Linked DNA regions of Homo sapiens: region 2 is linked to region 1. Evidence: promoter capture Hi-C in human tissues and cell types (Jung and others, 2019). All regions are on one chromosome and are shown on one strand. The core of a region is centred on a gene start or on the middle of the fragment in contact, and the rest is flanking DNA. Distances in the headings are between cores, read along the strand shown.

Region 1 (4,103 bases), core at 1,130-3,629:
AAGGACACCATAATTATGATGGTGATAAAACAATGCCTGCTTATGTGTGCTGAATAAATAAAGAATGTTTACAGCTCAAGAATCTTTTAATTCCAATTAAATGCTATCAAAGAAAAGCCACTTTTCCTACTGCAACCGCCTTTCCCCCCAATTATCTTGTTTTGTTGTAATATTTTCCTATGAGACACATGGGCCTTTCACAATTGATCCTGAATGCAAAAGAAAAAAAATCAGAGAAAGTAGAGTTTGACCTTCAGATATTAAATAATACACAAATATCCAGAACCACAATTTGTTAGGGTTGCCCAAGTTTTTGTTTATTTTACACAAGGGCCAAACATATAGAGACTGAAGTGGTGACACCAAGTGTTGAGGCCTACCTATGGGCTGCTCAGCCATACTGAAATCCTGAGCCACCACGAGGGGAGAGAGGAGAGACAAGACATGAGGAGCCTGATGGTCTCTGGAAAGGGAATCCTCTTCTGGTTCTGTTCCCCTGGCTTCAGCCCAAATCCTTCTGGGAGCACTGGAGCCAATCACTGTCTTTCACTGCTGCAGCTACTGGGAACCTACAAAAAAGCGGGAGATAAAAAAAAAAAAAAAAAAATCACAAGTTCGAATTTATGGATACACAAGTATCATTTCATATTCATGACATCAGCAAATCACATCATAATCAGATTTGAGCAAGGTTTGGACACTAAGACCCAAAAGACTGGACACTCAACACTGACAGTATCACATATTAACCAGAAAATTCGCTTTTTTGTTATGGAATCATAGGGTGAAAATTAAGTCTTTTAACTTTGAAAAGCTTACTTTTCACTTCTGAGGCCAATTTTTACACTAATAAATTTCAAGTAAACGTCTCTTTTAAAGTTGTTCCACAACATTTTAATTCAAACTTCTATTTCCTTTCTCAGTTGGGGTAGTGTTTTGTTTGTGTTTTAAAAAAACACATGGCACAACAAACGTTATGGAAAACGCACTCATTCCGTTAAATGCCGATACAAACCTGCCTTTTACTACATCTGTCTAAGCAGCGCATTGCTAAGTATAAACTTAAAAAAATTTTTTTTTCTCAAAGACATATCTATTATTTCTTGGCAAATACTATTTGGTGATGTGGTGCAAAAACACAATGGTAAAAAATTTCGGGGTATTTGTAAGTTTTCTGGAGAGTTGCAGGCCCCTTTCCTTTTGAAAGTTTAGAGCTCCAATACCCTCAATTCTACTGGCAGAATTAGGATGGACTTAGAGGGTCCTAAACGTGACCGATTCACTAAGGCGGGGGGGGGGGGGGGCTACAGCTTGCAGCAACGTGCTCTGCAACTTAATCCTACGCTAAAAGAGGGCAGAGAGCGAAAAAGAATGGAATACAAACTCTCCCGACATCCGTAGTTACTTTCAAGGTGGATTGTGTATTTTAAGGCTGATGGGAACGTCTGGTTTGTGGAGCAAAAAGAAGAGAAGGTAAGTGTTTGTCCTTGTATCCACCAGTTCGTAGAGAAACAATGAAAGAACAAAGGGAACCACTTCCCCATCTGAACATTTTCTGTATCTCCCTCCGTTTCAAGCCAAAAAGCTTGGGAAGGGATTCGCTTTACTCTACCTTAAGTAGTGGTTGCTGGCTTGTTGAACTAAGAATGAGAAAAAAGTTGAGAGGCAGATATAGACTAAATAATAATAAAAAAGGCTTGCTGTGGCGGATCTCCACCGCGCCAGTGTCAGCAACTTGCAGCAGAAGTTGCTCAATGCACGGAGGCAAAGCCCAAGAAATACCCTTTGCACACCAGATTTCGAACTCAGTCATTTAAATAGACTTTCTTGCTGTTTGAAGGGGTTTCTGCGCACAAAATGTGTAGGTAGTGGCTATGGGAGAGATGTACTATTTAGGTCGAAAAATGATCTCATGGCTATCTGGAAAAGAATTTTTAAAAAGGAAAGGGGATTCAAGTATCACGTTACTGTTTGCTAATAGAAGAAATGGCAGCACTGGCTGGGAAAGGAGAGGGATTCGTATTGAAATGCATTTGCTTTGGGGTACGCTGGTTATCCGCAAGTCTGGCTTTGTGGGTCTGCGTGGCTGAATAAGTGACCAAGTGCCTTCGGCATTATATAAACGGATCGATGTGTGCGGGAGTCCCCAAAGCCGTCGAGCACGTGAAACGCGACTTTTTACTGCCCTCCAAGCGGCGACCAAGCCCCGCTCCACCCCACCCCGCCTCAAAATCCGTATATTACCTGCCCTGTTACAGTGACACATGTTTATGTTTATAGTCCTGGTTTGTAGTAGTGTCAAGAACCGCAGCAAGAGGAAGGGGAGGAGAGAGGAGAGGGAGGAGTAAATTCAACCACCCCCACTTGTTGTTAAAGCAAATTTACTGCGTTATTGCAAGCTCAGGACGGGGGGCTGGGATGAGAGTTGAGAGGAAGGGTTGAGTTGGGAAGTGTGTTGGCGGTGGAAGGTGGGGGTGGGGTTAAGAGCTCCGCAATGGAGCTCCTCTCCCCAGCAGCCCAGGAAAAGCAGCTCGGTCAATAGGGGAGCATGCTGGCGCGGTCGAAAACAAAAAGGTTCCTCCTGCTCGCTGCGTTCACGTGGGGGGCTCTGCACGCGGGGCTCCAGGGCCGTGACCCCTGACCCCGGCTCCTCTCCGCGCTCTCCGGTGCCGCGCGGCCACTTTTTACCCAGGATCCCTCGCGCGGGCCGCGCTCGTGCCGAGCTGGAGTCCTTCCTAATCCTCCATTCCCGGCTCTCGCTCCCCGCCCCCGCCGCCAGCCCCGGGGGAGGATTCTCCGGCGGGGAACCCCCGCCCCACCCCCACCCCGACTGCCCCGGCGGAGTCGGCCGCAGCGAGTCCGCGCGGGGCGGGGAGGGCCGGGCCGGGCCTCCCCTACCGCGCCGGGCCTGCGAGGGAGGGGAGGGACGGGGAGCCGAGGGGAGGGGGCGCCGGCCTCCCGGCTCAGCTGCCCCACTGAGGCCTGGACCTGTTGACTGCGATTGGCCCGCCTCATCCCGCGCCCTCTCTCTGCTCGCAGCGGCCCCAGCCCTTCCGCGGCGTCGCGGGGAGGAAATGGGGATGGCTGTCCTCCTCTCCGCCTCCTTCTAACTTTCCTTTTTTTATTTGGGTGTGTTGGGGGGGGTGCTGAGAAAGCCCAGGCAACTCCACCGCCGCCCCATCCTGCCTCCGAAAGTCTCGTCACGCCCGACCCGCCGCCGCCCTCCCAGCCCCCATGACTTAAAACCGCCTCCCCTCCTCGCAGCGGCGCCCCGGCCCGGAGCCCGAGAGCCCTCGACGCCCCCGCCGCGCCTCCCCCGCCTGGCCTGGCCCAGCGGCGTCCCCAGCGAATTGTGTCGCTTTTCTGCCCTGGAAGCTCCCTCGGCCACGTTCCACTTTTTTTCCCAGTCCCAGGAGGCGTAAGATAAAACCTCTGATTTGCTGCGTGCTGCCGGGCACATTCTCTGCCCTCTCGTCCGAAGGACGAGTTTAAAATGGAGAGTTTAAAATAATAGCATTTACAGGAGGAAATAAAGAGCGAGGAGATGGTTCTTTGGCCGGTTTTAAGACATACATGCTTTTTTTTTCTTTTAATACAAGATGTCTTAAGGGTTAAAAGCGTTCTAGGGTTTGCTGTATTTCCTTCTAGATTTGGGGTTTCCTGAGGAAATCTTTTCCGGAGGGAAATAGCAAATCAACATTAAGATGGAAGCGAGACTTCTCAGCCACTTTTGGAAATGAAGGGGGAAATTGTAAAAATACATTCAGAAAAGGGCGCGAAGGCGGCGGCTGAGGGGAAGAAGCTGGAGTCTTGGGAGGAAGCGCAGTGGGTTGGAATCGGGGGAAGGAGGGCCCGCTAGGTCCGGGCGGGGAAGAAGGCGTGCGGGCGGCGGGGCGTGCGCCGGGCCGGGCAGCTGGAGGAAGGCGCGGCGGGACTGGCGAGCGCGAAGAGGCAGGCGGGGAAGGCCTCGGGGGGCGGGGGCCGGGCGCGGGGCCGGCGCGCCGGAGGAAGCGGGACCTGGCTCCTCGCGCCCGCCGGGCCGCCCCCATTGTTCTGCCCTAGCACCGCTGTTAGCCGAGCACGTCCTGACCGAGGGAGGGGCC
Region 2 (4,103 bases), core at 432-2,931, 430 kb before region 1:
TTTTCCTGCCAGAACATTTGAACTTGGATTCTCATTTTCCTCAAAAATCTTAAGAGTTCATGTGTCTGGGCCATTTCAATACATAAATAAAAAAGAATAAAGCATCAAGGATGCTAGCTAGATGTTATGTTCTTTCTATCACAATGAAAAAAATGTATGAGACAAATAGGCAGCCTACAAAATACACTGTTAACACAAAACAAAAATACTTCACTTCTTTATCCAATTAGCTATCAGTACCTCAAGTTTCCTCTGAAATTCTCCCAAATTCAGTCGTTGTTCTTCATCTCTCCACTTGAACTTATTAATTCATGCTTAGATTGCTACTTTCATTTTATTATATTATTTGGGGGATGGGGGTCAGGGTCTCACTCTGTCCAAGGCTGAAGTACAGTGGCGCAATTATAGCTCACTGCAGCCTCAAACTCCTGGGCTCAAGGGATCCTCCCATTTCAGGCTCCCAAGTTGCTAATACTACAGATGCACGCAACTACACAAGGCAAATTTTTTTATTTTTATTTTTTGTAGAAATGGAGTCTTGCTATCTTACCCTGGCTGATCTTGAACTCCTGGACTCAAGCAATCCTCTTGCCTCAGCCTCTCAAAATGCTGGGATTACCGGCAAGAGCCACCACGCCCACCTTGTCACTTTCAGATAGTTTTTTCTCATCTTGCATTTGCTATTGATATTTTTACCCATAGCTAATTTAACCCTATAACATATCTTTTTCTTCTATTTGTTAAGGGCGATTTTAGTTATGTCGTATCTTACAGAGTATCAGCAACTACAGGCAATCTGATAATGGAAGAGTTCTGTTCTCAATTCTTCATCAAGTTGTCCAAAGATACATTAAGCAGAACTGGTCGTTATGTGCTATCACTACTCATATGGTCTTTCATTGATTGTGGGAACAAGGATACATGTTCTACGGGTGTGCCATTCATTCATTCATTCATTCATTGATATGCCATTACTACAGTCAAGAGAAAGCACCAGCTTCCCAAAGTTAAAATAAACATATCTAGTACTATCCCACTGTTTGCCTGTGCTTCTAAATATAGAAGGCAGTTAGATTGCTCTAATACCATTTAGTTTGTGCAAAACCCTGTTTTTTACTATGTTCCTCTAGAAGTAACAGTAAATTATGTGATGATTTATTCCGATATCACTTCATGTATTTGAAGTTCGTCTGACCTGCCTATAATTTCCCTTGTCAATCTATTCTGGCTGTGTGTTTTATAAGCTAGTCACAATACTATATTTTAATTCACATGGACTTCTTTTTACCTCTATAATTTAATAATAATAATAATAATAATAATAATAATAATAATAATAATGGCTCACCACCAGAGTAGCACCTGCCAGTTCCTTTAGTAGCCAACAGGCCTTACTAATACAAATAGTTCCAGTTCTTCAAAGCACTTTTTAACTCTTTTTCTATTTTGACTCTCTACTTTCATCAAACCTGGGAACTGTTCCAGGCCCCTTCACATCTGATATTTCTTATGAAGAATGAATCGAGTAAGGCATTAAAAAGCCTTTGCCTTTTCACCAGCTTATGTTATCAGCTTTCCCAGCCTGTCCATCAGAGACCCATGCCAAGCAACTTGTGAAATTATATTACTCTAAAGTCTTTCTGGAACTTTCAGTAGCTAGCCCATATGGACAGGATCCAAAGTGGACTCACAGTATATTTTCTCTGATGTGGGAACAGTTTATGACAAGAGAATAATGAAAATCTAAATTGCCTTGTACAATTTATTGTATTTTATTTTTGTTCTTGGCTTCTTGCGTATCTACCAAGGAGAAAAGAGGAAATAATTTTTTAAGAGTACTTTTATTCATTTAGCAACAAGTCTTTTTTTTTTTTTTTCCATTTTAGCAGAGCCAAATGAAGATTCTTCAAGATATGGTATCTTTTCACTTGGCTGTTTCTGCCTGGGTGACTCAGAGGATAAGTATTTGGGAAAGACATGAATGGTAGTGCCAGGGTCCACCAGCCCAGAAGCATTGGACGCATTTTATCATAGGACCATGAGTTGGACAAAATTTTATAGGTGAGAAAAAAAGAAATGGGCTGGAGAAGGGAGACTGTCATCTCTCTTGGCTTGCTCTGTCTCCTCCTCTCACCCATCAAGTCAAGGGAACCAGACGCCCAAAGCCAAGTTCATCAGTCCCTCCATCGGCACTGAAAAAATCCATCAGTGTTCATAAGCTGCTAAGCTTGTGTAAACTGAATGCCATCTCCAAATTTCCAGTCTTGCCAACAAGCTGAAACAGGAGAAAGAATATGCAACCAGATGGGGGTCACAGCATTTTAAGTGCTTTCTTCAAGATTAAGAGTTGGTAGAACCAAGAAAAGGAAAAGACATACAGAATGTCTTCAGCTCATGTATCCACAGATCTCTGTCTTGTTCAGGTATATCTAAGCTCATCCACTGGAAGAGGAGAACAATATTTTATCCTGAAAAATCTACTGCTTCGTAAACAAATCAATACATTTCTTGTGAAAATCTTTTATAAAAATGTCCTAGACTGGTTTCCTTAGCCTTCATTGCATGTGTTACTCATGATCCATGAATCACACAAAGTTCTCACTGACCTTCTTTTCTACAGAGATATTTTTTGCGGGAACCAGAAAACATTTTGTCGTTTTTGTGAAAGACTATTTTCCATTCTAAGCTTTCCATAGAAAACTATATTTATCTGTGGTTTGACACATTAAGCATCACTACTCAACTTAATTTGTTCTTATGGGTCCTTAAGAGTCTAAAAAAGACCGGGCTGGGTGTGGTAGCTCACGCTTGTAATGCCAACACTTTGGGAGGCTGAAGTGGGAGGATCACTTGAGGTCAGGAGTTCAAGACCAGCCTGGCCAACATGGCAAAACCCCATCTCTACTAGAAATATAAAAATTAGCCAGGTGTAGGCCGGAGACGGTGGCTCACGCCTGTAATCCCAGCACTTTGGGAGGCCGAGGTGGGCGGATCACGAGGTCAGGAGATCGAGACCATCCTGGCTAATACGGTGAAACCCCGTCTCTACTAAAAATATAAAAAATTAGCCGGGTGCAGTGGCAGGCGCCTGTAGTCCCAGCTACTTGGGAGGCTGAGGCAGGAGAATGGCGTGAACCACAGAGGCGGAGCTTGCAGTGAGCCGAGATTGTGCCACTGCACTCCAGCCTGGGAGACAGCGAGACTCCGTCTCAAAAAAAAAAAAAAAAAAAAAAAAAAAAAAAAATTAGCCAGATGTGGTGGTGGAGTGCCTGTAATCCCAGCTACTCGGAGGCTGAAGCAAGGGAATCACTTGAGCCTGGGAGGCAGAGGTTTCAGTGAGCTGAGATTGCCCTAATCCACTCCAGCCTGGATTTTTGTTGGAAGAAACAAAAAAGGCTAAAGAAGACCAGAAGTCTGCTCCTTTGTAAATGGGACTCTTGGGTGGTGGCATGAATATTACAGACTCCTGTTAACATCAGATGACAAAGCAAGGTCACCTCTTTGCTTCTAAGTCTCACATTGTAAAATTAATTTCACCGAACCAGATTCAGCAATTGGAAGAATGGCAGTATCGTAGGAGAGACTAGAACCCTCTCGTCATAGTTTCCCAGGTGATGGTGAAGAAAATCCTTGGGCCAACAGACAGAACACAGAAAACGCTCCCTATAATTAGGTGAAGGGATCCAAAGTGTAGGTGTGCCTATATCCATAGTAGTGTATTCAAAATCTGACACCACTAAGCATTATGATCTGGGAACCACCTGCATCCCATTGAGAACTCACTTAGATAGAAAGGTTTGTTTCCAATTCACATTCCAAGGCCTCATCTCAGACCAACCAACCATATCAGAATCTAGAGGTGGGGCCCATGAATCAGCTCTCTAGACTGTTCATAAGTCCACTAAGATTTCAGAACCCCTGCCCTGAAAGCTGACCCTCACAAAAGTTCCATCCAACAGGGAGTTATCTAGGGAGTGGTAAAAGGTAAAGACATTTGGCCCAGGTAGTGATGGAACCAGGGAAATTCTAGCCTAAGAAAAGCAGATAAAAGATAAGACGAACATGGTCAGAGTGATGACCGTTGACAAGGAAAGATGGCCAGG

The links. The method cuts DNA at HindIII sites, captures the fragments that hold promoters and counts their contacts. A contact is called where the count stands out against the background at its distance.
Region 2: a fragment that was not itself captured here is called in contact with the fragment with the promoter of SKIDA1 in region 1 in 1 of the 25 tissues and cell types used here (dorsolateral prefrontal cortex).

What each region holds. Positions count from the first base shown.
Region 1 is chr10:21,523,303-21,527,405 of GRCh38, forward strand. SKIDA1 (SKI/DACH domain containing 1) reads right to left here and starts at 2,380. Exons shown (of 4, transcript NM_207371.4): 1 at 2,245-2,380; 2 at 381-569. RefSeq lists enhancers at 1,772-2,415, 2,416-3,059 and silencers at 2,715-3,134, 3,255-3,404, 3,850-3,969, 3,980-4,103. The HindIII fragment of the contact is 2,515 bases long and covers 1,200-3,714 here.
Region 2 is chr10:21,091,289-21,095,391 of GRCh38, forward strand. It overlaps a transcript of NEBL not described here. Among named protein-coding and RNA genes, the nearest start is that of NEBL-AS1, 81 kb to the right of the region's middle. The HindIII fragment of the contact is 3,576 bases long and covers 1-3,469 here.